Regions from separate parts of the Homo sapiens genome. Here region 1 is linked to region 2. Evidence: promoter capture Hi-C in 16 types of primary human blood cells and fetal thymus (Javierre and others, 2016). All regions are on one chromosome and are shown on one strand. Each heading gives the region's core, a stretch centred on a gene start or on the middle of the fragment in contact. The rest is flanking DNA. Distances are from core to core; before and after follow the strand shown. Region 1 has its middle 17 kb from the start of MIR4520-1. Region 2 holds the start of MIR497HG (mir-497-195 cluster host gene).

The links. The method cuts DNA at HindIII sites, captures the fragments that hold promoters and counts their contacts. A CHiCAGO score of 5 or more calls a contact.
Region 1: a fragment that was not itself captured here is called in contact with the fragment with the promoter of MIR497HG in region 2 in 3 of 17 cell types (megakaryocytes, erythroblasts and neutrophils); the score reaches 11.0 in megakaryocytes.

The regions. Positions count from the first base shown.
Region 1 is chr17:6,669,008-6,675,059 of GRCh38, forward strand. No RefSeq gene overlaps it. Among named protein-coding and RNA genes, the nearest start is that of MIR4520-1, 17 kb to the left of the region's middle. RefSeq lists a silencer at 1,184-1,338. The HindIII fragment of the contact is 2,701 bases long and covers 3,405-6,052 here.
Region 2 is chr17:7,017,144-7,024,053 of GRCh38, forward strand. MIR497HG (mir-497-195 cluster host gene) reads right to left here and starts at 2,511. Exons shown (of 3, transcript NR_038310.1): 1 at 2,235-2,511; 2 at 1-245. BACC1 (BPTF associated chromatin complex component 1) reads left to right here. Exons shown (of 6, transcript NM_174893.4): 6 at 118-377. The coding sequence ends at 122. It overlaps BCL6B (BCL6B transcription repressor), which reads left to right and starts at 5,907. Exons shown (of 9, transcript NM_181844.4): 1 at 5,907-5,956; 2 at 6,517-6,707. The coding sequence starts at 6,529. It overlaps RNASEK-C17orf49 (RNASEK-C17orf49 readthrough), which reads left to right. Exons shown (of 8, transcript NR_037717.1): 8 at 118-381. It also overlaps MIR195 and MIR497. RefSeq lists enhancers at 1-64, 1,416-1,585 and a silencer at 4,861-5,000. The HindIII fragment of the contact is 3,977 bases long and covers 1-3,680 here.

The DNA.
Region 1 (6,052 bases), core at 3,505-6,004, 350 kb before region 2:
GGGAAGGCTGAAGCAAACTCACACGTGCCCCTGACCTCGGTTGCTCCTTCTGTCAGATAAACTCCTGTTTGTCCTCAAATTCCTGCTCCATTTCCACCTCCCCAAGGAGACTTGCCTAGTCCTTGACTCTGAGCCCACTTCCTGGGTGTTCTCGCTCCCCACCGCTGCTGCCTGTTTTTACAGCATCCATGTGGTCACTCCGTGAATGATTCTTTGTTGTTTCCTCCTGTCTCTCCCGTGAGATTGAAAGCACATCAAGGGCAGGCCTGTCACAAAGCCTCTTTGTGTTCTGTAGCTATGCGTGGAGCGAATGAACAAGGTTGGGCTTGTCTGGACCTGGGCACGGTCACTGAATGTTCTTGGCCTCTGTAAGGAAGGGCATCCCCTTGGCAGTTAGCAGGGCAGGCACAAGGGGCATAGCATCCCCAGAACATGATGAAGGGCACCTTTGAAAAGCTAGAGAGGCTTTGGATAGAGCTGGAATTGTCTGGTGACATGTGCTCATTCATACTACATGGTCATTATACTACGTGGTCTTAGAATATGTCAAATTCTCACCTTTTCATCCACCCACAATTCACTGAGTTCCCGTTCAGTGCCAGCTTCTGTGATGGGTAATAGTGGTGGGAAACATGCAGAACTGGATGATCAAGTTTAGAATGAGATCGTGCCTACTGTCGGAGCAGTCCAGGAGGGGTGACCCCAGGATCCCTTCTTCCTTTGCCTTCCATCTATTCTAAATTGTCTTCAGCTGGTGATGCACCAGCTGGGCATCCAGACGTCAGCTGGCTTAAACAGACCGCTGTGCTTGCAACAAGCAAGACACTTCAGAACTTGCAGAATCACTGCATCCCTTTCTTAAACCAAGACCCAACCCCACCATCTCTTTCTTTTCCTTTCTGGTTTGGCCTCTGTAGGTGTGACATCAGAGACACACCTCAGCGGATGTGACTCAGTGAGCACCATTCAGACTCCCCAGGGCCACTCCCATGAGCTGGCCAGGTGGGCAGGCTTTGCTGAGCCTGTCTCCCCACCGGTCTGAGGTCTGCAGATTAGGCTTCCAGACAGGGAGCGGCAGGGCAGGCCCCTCAGTGGGAAGACAGGAGTGTCTGTATGGCCAGCCGGGAATCAAGAACCATTCACCCTCCACCAGCAAGGGTGGGGCTGCCCTGAGCTTTCAGGCAGCTGTTTTATGGAATTATTAATTTTAATGTACAGATGGTTTTATTTTCTGCTCATTTTCACATATTCTAAGAACCCTTAAATGTTATACTATATAGTCTTTTTTTTTTTTTTTTTTTTTGAGACAGAGTCTTTGTCACCCAGGCTGGAGTGCAGTGACGCAATCTCAGCTCACTGCAACCTCCACCTCCCGGGTTCAAGCAATTCTCCTGCCTCAGCCTCCTGAGTAGCTGGGATTACAGGTGCCTGCCACCACATCTGGCTAATTTTTGTATTTTTAGTAGAGACGGGGTTTTGCCATGTTGGCCAGGTTGGTCTCGAACCCTTGACTTCAGGTGATCCACCCACCTCGGCCTCCCAAAGTGCCAGGATTACAGGCTCAAGCCACCGCGCCCAGCCTATAGTCTTAATATTCCCTATTTTAAAAAATATTCATGGCGGCCATACTAGAGCCCCCGGGATATAGCGGAGAGCACTGCCCTCATGGTCTTTAGATACACGTCTTTCATGGTTCTGTTGAATGACTTCCTTACAACACATTCCCAGGAGCAGAATTACCACATTAAAAGGTATGAACATTTTTATAGCTCTGGAAGCGTATTGCCCAATTTCTCCCCTAAAAAGGTGGTGTTAATTTACACTGCCACTGGCAGTGTGTGTAAGCTGGTTTCAGCACAGCTTCAACAGCATGAGACATTATAATTTTGTTAATGTTTGCTAATTTCATAGGTGTGAAATGAATGGCACATCAGGGGGACTTTAATTTGCGTTCCCTGGTGATCGTGAGGGTGAGCCTGTTTGGAGGTGCTGATGTGCACAGTCTGCCTAGTGGGGGCCTCTCCGCCCTGTCTCAGGCACTGTCTGTTTCTCAGCCTGTGTCTCCCCACACCTCTGCCTGCCTCCCGCCGACTGCTGTTCTTACTGTCCCTCTAAGCCTGTCTGTCTCAGTGTCTTAGCCTCTGATTCCTCTGAGTTTCTCTGGTTCCTAACTGGCCAGGTGTGGAGCTGGTTCATGGAGGTCCTAGCCAAGCCCTGACAAGCTGCAGTCTAGAGGCGGGGCGCAGGGTTCTGGGCACAGGGCTCCAGGCTCCTGCCTCCAAGGGCTCCCTCCCCGGGGAGCTCCCTTTGTGAACTCACATGGTGCCCTGCCCTTCCTTCCACCAGGGCCTCACCAAAGGCCCCTTTCATTTCTCCAGGTAGCCTCAGCTGGGCTGACCTGCTCGATTGGATCCAGTGATTCTGAGATCCCAGAAGTAGCTGGGAGTGAGCAGGCTGTCCCTCAGTGACTCCCTCTTAGGAAGTGTTCCAGAAGCCCCACCCTCAGGACAACTCACCAGACAGTGTTGTGTGTCCTGGCCGTTGGGGGTGTGTGGTCTGAAAGAGCCAGAAAGTGGTGTCCCCAAAGTCCAGATGTGTGGACAGTAGACAGGTCCACAGAGGTGACAATGGCGCCGCCTGCCTACCTTCTCCAACGAGCCCCTTACCTGAAGTGGCAGAAAGAGCTCACCTCTCAGGCCAAACCCCACTTGGCACCAGGTGGACGGGGGGCCACCGAGGCCCCATGGTTTAGCAGGGTCAGAGTGGGGCTGTCACCCTGCCCACTTTCAATGGCGTGGAAGAGTCTTCAACACTTGGGAAAGTTTCAGAAAGACTCTAGAGAGGCAGCTGGCTTCAAGGGAAGGCTGTGTGGATGTACTTGGCGAATCCTCATGATCAGTGAGTTGCTGACTCCGGGCTCTGGACCTGCCCTGTGGCTGCTTGTCTTTGAGGCAGGTCTTGAGGGCTCTCTGCAGTCACCTCTCAGGCCCTGTGGGTGGTCCCAGCCTATTAGAATCGTAGATTGATACCAGCCAGAAGGGAACTCTGACATCAAGTTCTCTCTCTTTTTTTTTTTTTTTTTTTTTTTTGAGACGGAGTCTCTCTGTGTCGCCCAGGCTGGAGTGCAGTGGCGTGATCTCGGCTCACTGCAACCTCCACCTTCCGGGTTCCAGCGATTCTTCTGCCTCAGCTGCCCGAGTAGCTGGGACTACAGGCGTGCACCACCATGCCCGGCTAATTTTTGTATGTTTTAGTGGAGATGGGATTTCACCATGTTGGCCAGGCTGATCTCAAACTCCTGACCTCATGATCCACCTGCCTCGGCCTCCTAAAGTGCTGGGATTACAGGCATGAGCCACCACGCCCGGCCCTACCCTCTCATTTTATTTAACATTTTAACGTTAAGCTTTTAAAAAATTATACAAATAATGCATGCCTGTTTCTAGGATATTTGGAAAATACAGAAAACTATAAAGGAGAAAATATTAATCCTTCTATCCGTTCATCAAAGATAACTGCTATTCTATTTCAATATCAACCTTTTCTGTGCTCGCATATTTTTATTATCACTACGACCATACATTATACGTGATTTATTTACCTCCGATTATATGCATTTTCAATATAACGAAATATTCTTTAAAAACACTGTTAATGACTGCATAATAGTCTTTTGAGCTGACACACCTTAACTAATATTACCTAAATGTCAGGCATGTATGTTTTCAGTTTTTCAAGGATATAAAAATATACCAAAGTAAACATCTTGGGACAGGCGTCATGGCTTACACCTGTAATCCCAGCATTTTGGGAGGCCAAGGTGGGCAGATCACTTGAGGTCAGGAGTTTCAGATCAGCCTGGCCAACACGGTGAAACCCCGTCTCTACTGAAAATACAAAAATTAGCTGGGCATGGTGGCAGGTGCCTGTAATCCCAGCAACTCAGGAGGCTGAGGCAGGAGAATTGCTTGAACTGGGAGGGGTGGAGGGGTTGCAGTGGGCTGAGATCACGCCACTGCACACCACAGCCTGGGGGACAGAGTGAGACTCCATCTCAAAAAAAAAAAATACTGGGTGTGGTGGCTGACGCCTGTAGTCCCAGCTACCTGGGGACTGGAGTGGGGGAGGCTGAGGTGGGAGGATCACTTGAGCCCAGGAGGCAGAGGTTGCAGTGAGCCAAGATCGCCCCACTGCACTCCAGCTTGGGAGACAGAGTGAGACTCCGTCTCAAAAACAAAACAAAAAATACTAAAGTAAGCATCTTTATGCATAAATTTTTGTCCACAATTTCATTTTTCCCTTAGCTTAGATTCCTACTCATAGGGTATAGGCATGTTTTAAGATTTCGCATGTGTATTTTTATTTTACTTTTGAGAAAGGTTGAACTAACACATGCCCATCTCGCCACACACCATCAACTACACCAAGAAATATCATTCAAAGAAACATCGACTAACTCGAAAGACAGTATTTCTGTTGCCTCCTTTCAGTGATCGGTCAGCTAAGTCTTGGAGAGGAAAAGGGACATGACGAGGGTGGTTCTAGGAGTGTGTTATTTCATTCTGTCTTCACAGCAACCCCATATAAATAGCAAGAAGTGGAGGAGCTAAAGCACGCAGATTAAGGTTAAGGAACTTGCCTGGCCGGGCACAGTGGCTCACGCCTGTAATCCCAGCACTTTGGGAGGCCGAGGCAGGTGGATCACCTGAGGTCAGGAGTTCGAGACCAGCCTGGCCAACATGGTGAAACCCCGTCTGTACTAAAAATAGAAAAATTAGCCAGGCATGGTGGTGTGCACCTGTAATTCTAGCTACTCAGGAGGCTGAGGCAGGAGAATTGCAGGAGAATTGCTTGAACCCAGGAGGTGGAGGTTGCAGTGAGCTGAGATCGCGCCATTGCACTCCAGCCTGGGCAAGAAGAGCGAAACTCTGTCTCAAAAAGAAAAAGAAAAAGGAACCTGCCTGGACTCACATTCGGTTACTAAGAGTTGGAGCCCGAGTTGGAGCCTGTGCCGTTGGGCCCCAGGGCCCTTGTACTTCATGTCACCTCCATGCCACAGCTCCTGTTCCCAGCTGTGATGCTGGAATGTGGATTGGAACCAAGTCATAAAGAAACTTGGAGTTTGGATTTACCCTATAGACAGAGAGAGGCCCTTGATGGGTCCTTAAGCATCAAAGCTGGGTTTTACAGAGATGTTTCTGGTGGACTGGCTTGAGGGAGACAGGAAATAGGGAGGTCAGCTGGGAAACGCAACATACAGATAATGCGATTGACAAACAGGGCTCGCACGGAAGCACACGTGCCTATGGTTGTGGGAAGTGGGCAGTTGGGAATGCTGAGGGTCTCAGAGGCCTCCCACCATGCCCTCTTCACTGAGCAAAGGCCATTTTTATCTGCTACACGTCAGGCAAAACCTGCGCCAACTGCCAAAGCCTCCACCTCAAATCTAGCAAATAAGAGAGAGGACGGTATGGATTACGTTATATTTAAAACAAGCCCACACAATGCCTGTAATTTTTCATTCTGACTCCGTAATTATAACTCAAGACCAGTCAGATCATAGTTATCCCCACACCGACCTGCTGTTGGGACACATGGAATTAAAGGCTTTGCTCCCTTCAAATTCTATTTTGGAGGCCGAGCACTGGCAGGTAACGGGCCTTTCTCAAGGCCCGTCTTGTTGGAGCCCCTCCCGGGGCAGCCTCCACGAAGGCCAAGTCAGCACCAGGGTTTCGGGAAGACCACGGATGGTGTGGGAGCAGTTGAGATGCTACCGCTTTGCCCGACCTGAGCCCTGGGCCTCGGGGCTGAGCCAGGGGCCTGGAAGCAGAGGTGAGCACCGTCCTTGGACCAGACCTTGGGCAGGTCTATCCCAGAGCATCTGCACCCTCGAAGATTCCCAAATGCTGCTCTACCCTGGACCTGACCAGGGTCCCAGGGTCAGATGGGCCAAGCCCTGGTTGTCCGGCACACTTGTCACAGACAGGCTGCTATTGCCCAAAGGGGCCTAAATTCAGAGAAGAAGAAGAAGAAGAAAAACATCCAAGGAGTG
Region 2 (6,910 bases), core at 1,261-3,760:
ACAGCGCAGGGCATTGGATCAGTACGTAGCAGGGTGTTTCAGGGAGGTGGGAGTGGCCTTGGAAGCACACTGGGGGCTCGCTCCATCTCGGCCCATTTTACTTCCTGTTCCAGACAGCCTGACCCTGGATTCTGGCCTTCTCATGACCTCTGCTGATCCTCCTCTCCTCTCCTGCTGAGCCTTCCACCTCTGACCTCTCACTGTTCATGCCGGACCTGTGGATCTCCTGGGACTCCGAGCAAGGCCTGCACGAGAGAGGGCTGAAAGGCTGCTGGGGCTGCCACCTCGCTATTCCCGCATAAGCATCTGCCCCCAACCCCTTTGACCTTCATCTGATGGACATTTTTATACAGAAAACAATAAAGATTTCCCTCTCAGCTTCGTGCTGTCTGCTTAACATTATTAGCAGGAGAGGCCTGTTCCCTCTTCTCTCCTCGGCCCATGGGGGCTCAGCCCCTCCTCGGTAGTTTTCACCACCCTGCCTGGAGCAGCACAGCCAATATTGGCAGACTCGCTTCCCTGTGCCAATATTTCTGTGCTGCTAGAGCCAGGGAAGCTGGGTGTGGGCAACAAAGACTCCACTTTGTTCTCTTGAGGCAGAACTTACTCCCAGGGTCTCTGGCCATCAGTATTCTTGAAACTGCCCTGGAGATTTTAGAGGGGTGCTTACATACCCCACCCTCTCCTTGCCCACCTGGCAAGAAGTTTGTCACAAGGCCCCAGATGTTTTTTGTGTCACTTCTCCAGGATGGCCTCCCAGGGCCAAGCCTCGGCGGTGCCTCCCCCACCCTCGCTCTAACACCACAGTGTGGTTTGGACGTGGCCACAGTGCCGTACAAACCACAGTGTGCTGCTGGGGCGGGAGCAGGACCGGGGTGGGTTGAAAGGAAGAGAGCACATAGCAGTGCTGGGAAGACCCCAGCACCACCTCCAGGAGCGGGGGGATAGAGAAGCCTTAAAAGGCAAACATGGCCCCCAAAAACGTTTGGGAGGAACCAGGGACGGGCTGAGCAGGCAACTGGAAGGCGACGGACCATGGGGATGAGCTCACAGTGTAGTAAGATTGGACCATCTTCCCTCTGTAGGAACTCAGCTCAGGGGATCCCTAGGGTGGGGTCAGAGGCAGAAGAAATAGGGAATGACTGGAGGGGCCAACACACTGCCTCCTGTCTCAGCAAGGGCAGGGACCCAAGGCTTCCTGTGTCCGTCCTTCCTCTCCCTGGGTCAGAACCCAAGAGAAAAGCAAGGAGAGACAGAGGGCCAAGGCCAGCAGGGTTGGGAGTTGGCAGTCCAGAGGTGGTGGGGCCGGAACATGGTTGGGAGAGGGGGGCCGGAAGTCGCCCTGGGCCCTGGGCCTGCCACAAGATGGAGGCCAAAGGCAGGAAATGGAGACCAGGGGGAAGGGGAGCAGCAGAGCCCAGGAAGAGGGCCATCTGGACCTGGGGGGCCAGGTATTCAACCCCCAGTGCTGTTCCCACTCCCCAGGGCCCCTGAGGACCCGAGCCGGCCCCCACAGCAACCTCCATCAGCCCATCCACCAGGCCAGGGCAGGCGGGCCCACCCCAGAGAGCCACGTTTAAGCTGAGACAAACATGCCTCTCCCCACCCCCAACTCCAGGCCTTCCCTCAGCCCTTTTCTCCTGTCCAGGACTTGATTTTTTAAAAACACCCCTCAGAAAGCAAAATCCAAGGGCCAAAACTCCTTTTGCAAATCAAAATATGACCCCCTAAAATCCAGAAGTTATCTTCCTATATCCCATCGCATCTTTTACCACCCCCTCTTCCGACACACCCCCCAAAACTCTTAGCAATCTGAAAGATCCAAGGTGGTGTATGTAAGCAGTCTTTTTAGGCCCCCGAAGATGCCAGACCCCTCCCGGACACCCCTATCTGCCCTCCATCAAATCTTGCCAAGGCCTCCTGCTCCTCCACCACCCTCCATAGCCCCCAAACTAACAGTTGCCCCCAGCTCCTACCTCGGCAGAGCCTTTGTGGGGGGTGAAAGAGAAATTAAACACTATCCTAACGGCTGGGGATGTTGGGGGGCTCTCTGGTCTCAGCCTTTGGTTTCCGTCTGGGGGGCTGCAGTTTAGGGGTATAAGAGAAAGCCTCTCCAATCATCCCCCCAATTCCAAGACTGACAAAGCCAACCCCACCCCAGCACGCACCTCCAAACCTCCCCCCCAACCGCCACGTCTCTCCTGAAAACAGAGGACACTTCCCTCCCCACTTACCTCAGCTACTCTCCCCTGAGATCCTGGTCCCCTATTTTGAAAAGAGCAAAATTTAGGGTGCATCCCTCACATTTGGGGTGCAGGAGAAAGGAGCCGCCCCAGTCGCATCGCTGGCCTCCTTCCTCTCGGCTGGCTCAGGGACTGGGGAGTGCCCTGGGGAGGGGGCACCCCCACAAGAGATCTCAGGAGGGGTTCCTCCACTCCCAGTCAGAATTGGGGACACCCCCCCAAAACCCGTCCCAGCCCATCCGTCTCCAACTCGGCGGGAGAGGCAGCTGCAATGCCCCAGTCAGATTCACCCAACACTACATTCCTCACCCCATCTAGAGGGGTCCCGGGGTCCCCAAAAAATCCCAAAAAAATCTAGGATGTTGGGAGGACGGTCCTGGACTAGCTCCCCAAATTTGGGGTCCTCAGATACCCCCGTTTTTTCAGGAAAATTCCGTCTTTTGCCTGCCTCCCGCCAGCCCTGCTCTGTCCCGATGCCAATTTTGGAAGTCACTCCCTCCTTCCTCCTCCCCGTCTCTCCAGGCCCCCCCCACCGCTCGGGGGCTAGGGTCCAGGACACCTGGCTTCCAGACCGGGGGGAATCACTCCTCAAAGGGCTAGGGGCCAGGAGGTCAAGCTCATTGCCCCTGTCTTAAGGAAGCAGGAAAGCCCGTTCCTCCCTTCCCCTCCCCCCTGGCTGGTCACCGTGGTGGTTTAGGAAAGCCTGGAGGATTGGAATCTGCCATTGCTGTTGCACAGGCAGTTTTTTTTCTTGGGTTGGGGGGGTGGGCGGTGGGAGGGAGAGAGGGGAGGAGGGCCGAAGAGAGAAGGGACCCAGGCGCGAAGAGCTGGCCTGGCTTACCCTGTAGCCCCGGCTGCCGTGGGGAACCCCTCCCCGCCATCTCACCCACACTCCCAGTCCTCTGTCTGCTTTCTGTTTGGGGCTCATCCTAGAAAATCAGGGTGCAAGAATCACCTCCTTGTACCCCACCAGCACCCCTCCTTGCCACAGTTCCAACAGCACTGCCCTGGTCAGGGGTGCCCACTTGGCCAAGGGACACCCCATTTTTCTCCAACTTCCCCCAAACTAAGGGGTGCTCCCTTAAGAAATTGGGATTCAGAGTCTGAAACCGCCTTTTCTCCCTCTCTTCTCCCTCAAGCCACATAATAATAAAAGGAGATACCACACCCTTTCCAAGTTTCTCCCTTCAAATCCTGGGCTTATTTGGGGGTTCACTAAAGAAACTTCTAGAATCTGGGGTGAGAGGGCACTATAAGCAAAAGACATCCCAAACCAGGGTCCAAATTAAGTGAACTCCCAAATCAGTCTCACCTTATGATTATCCCTTAGCTTCACCAAAAGCAGCCAGAGTGACAAAACACCCCCAAAATAAGAACACCCCAGAACTTTAGTCTCCTGTCCTCGCGGCCCTCACCTTGTTTCTCCCCTGGGGAAAAAGCTTCTTGGGTATCCATGGATACACAGGAATACCCCACGTCTTTCCACTTTGTGGAACGTGAGTGTCCACAAGACTCAAATATAAAAGTTTGCTCCCCCCTCCCAGGACCCCCAATCACAGAAAGCTTCGAACTTGCTCCCAGCTTCCTATAATGTTCCACCTCAAACTAATTTTTAAAACTCCAAATTGAACTTATTCCCCAAATCTAATCTGAGCCTTGAAACTTAGATGGCACCCCAAAATAGACTGCACCCCCAAATCAGCATGAGTACTTTGGTTCTGCTGATAGTCCAAGATGACACAGGTGAGCACAATCTCCAAATTGTGGGTGTCAGAACCCCCAGAACTAATGTAACTTCCAAGTCAGCCCCATACCTGAAACTTACCATATAGGCCTCAAAGGCTGAATGCAGCCACCGGTGCTCACAATCAAATCAACACCCCATAATAAACAGACACCCCACAACTGATCAAATAATACTCCATCCTGATGCCAAAGGGAGAGCCCCTAGTCTAATTCTCATCTCCAAGCTGGGCAGAGACCTAAATAACCCTCACATGTCAAAGCCACCTCATCGTCCTGAATTTCCCAGTTCCCGGTTTCTCAGCTGTTCTTTCATGCATTCAAATAAAGACACACTCCGGTCTGAAGGGGAGGGCCCCGGGCCTGATATCCAGCCCCGTGGACCATGGTCGGCCATTCCTGGCCAACTGTACACTCTCCCCAGCCCAAATCCGGGGAGCTTCTGCCTTGCAGCTGGATTCAGCTCTAGCACCCCTTCTCCAAATGAGCTTTGCCTTGCCTGCCCGCAATGTCTCCCGAAACAAAATATGAGGGTGTGATCCATGCCCATCTCTCAGATCAGGGACTTCAAATTAGGGTGGTTAAGCCCCCTCCTGCCCTCTCTCCCTCCTCCTTGTTTTCCCTTCTCGTTTACCCCACCCAATTTTAATGTTCAATTAAAAGTCACCTCCAAAGACATCTGGGTAGCAGTGTCTAGCTTAATTCGAAAAGAAAACCCGGAGTTCCCAGGCTCAGGTCCCGCTTCTTGTCCCACCCATTCCCCTGGCTCCTAAAGCCCGCGATTTCTCACCTCGGGTAGGAACCCCAGCCTGAGGGGAAAGTCCCCTCGGTCTCCTAACTCTAGCTCCCTCCGCCCAGCCCTAGTCCCCTCCTAGGAGACAGAGGTGCAAAATAAACCCGCGCAAAGGGGAGGAGGCTAAAGGTTTCAGCCGCCCAGACCAAATGGATCCTGCGCCCGGGTCTGAGCGCACCCCAGGCCGGGTGGAGACGAGGGGCGAGGCGAGGCCAGTGCTCGGCCGCCCCCTCGTGGAAGGAGCCGCACATTGCCGAGCCTTGCCTACTTGCCGCGCTGGACCCCGGCGTCCCGCCAGCCTCCAAGCGTAGCCGACGGGCGGGTGCCCGAGGCCCTCGTGAGCTGGGATTGGGGGAAAGCAAGCGGGCTTTGGGCGGGAGTCCATCTCTCTGGATCCCTACAAGGACCCAGAAGAGAGTCGGGAGCGAGAGAGGCCGGACGCCTAGGTCTCCCGAGCGTCTCTCGCCCCTCCACCCCCACCTCGGGGCTTTCCCCACCTCCTCGAGGGGAAGCAGCTGGCGGAGCCGTCCGGTCGCAGGACAATGGAAGGAAACCAACTAGAAATCATATCCGCCCTCTCCGTACCCCGCCCGGCCAGAGCCCCCCTTTTTGTAGGCCCGGGTAGAGTAGCCTGTCATTCACACCACACCCTCCCCGTCTGAGACCCTACGGGAGCCCACTGTCGTCTGCCCAAACCTGCTGTCTCGTTGGGCTCCCCCTTTTCTCCCTTAACACAGTACAAGAGAGGGAGAGGGGGTTGCCGTATGCACTTTGTCCTGCAGCAAAGGTTGGCTCCTGGCAAACCCTCCCAAAAGCCAACACACCAATTTTCACTGGCCCAGGCCTTCCGACGACTCAGACTCCCGTATTGCCAACCTCGATATCCCTAACCTCCTCCCCAATTCCAATATCCCCGTCCTCGTGTCCACTTGCAGTGACCCAAGACCCCCTACGTTACGACCACCCCTTGTTTCTGAGGTCCCGCCCTCGAGACGGAGACCCCGCCCTGGACTCGCCATCTGGAGAGCGAGGGAGGAAGGAAGGATACAGACCCAGGCGTTCACCCCACCTCCACCCCCGCCCCCGACATCCCGGCCAGATAAAGGAGCCGAGGCCAAGAGGGGAGAGAGACCCCGCCCCCCTTAAGAAGAGAAGCCGCGGCCCCTGCAGGACGGGGGTAAGAACAAGAGACTGAGGGAGCCAGACTCCTGGGTCCCCCAAGAGGGTAGGAGCTTGTGTGGAGCTTGCCATCAGCGAGCCTGAGTCCCAGAAATTGGGCTAAACTAGGGATTGGGGACTAGATAGGAGTCGCAGAATTCCGTAGTTCGGGGAAGGGAGCCTCGGCTGGGATTTGGAGGTGTGTGGACGGCAGGCCGTGAGATCTCGAGGCAGGGTTGGACACCTGAGACACAGGCGCGCAGAGGGGAGTGGCGGTGCTGGAGGGGCACTGGGGGTCGAACCCAGGGCGATGGGCGCGGGATTCCCCACGCTCGCCAACGACGCCGCGGTGTGGAACCTTCAACTGGCTCCAAGCGCTGTGGGATCTGGAAGAGGCAAGGGAGCGAGGGTGTCGTAGAGGGCAGAATGAACAAGAAGAATTAGGAGGGAGGCTGCGTGTGCCGGGGCTAGGGGCTGGAAGTCCTGGCTCTAGTTGCACCTCGGAAGGAAAAGGCAAACAGAGGAGGGAAGGCGTCTTAGGACTGCCTGGATCCAGAGCACTTTCCACGGCCTCTACAGGCCTGTGTCGCTATGGGTTCCCCCGCCGCCCCGGAGGGAGCGCTGGGCTACGTCCGCGAGTTCACTCGCCACTCCTCCGACGTGCTGGGCAACCTCAACGAGCTGCGCCTGCGCGGGATCCTCACTGACGTCACGCTGCTGGTTGGCGGGCAACCCCTCAGAGCACACAAGGCAGTTCTCATCGCCTGCAGGTTCGAGGGGTGGGGCCTGGGGCGGGGCCAAATGGGAAAGGGGTGGGACCACAGGGCCGTTGAGAGGGAATCCGAAGCCAAGTCTTTCAGAAGCAGGAGGCGGAGCGTCCCAGAATTGGGGGCGGGGTGATAGTGAGGAGGCGGGACTTTTTCAGGGGGCGGGGCTTCCTGAAGCTGCGCATGTCTCCCTTGGTTCCCCAGCC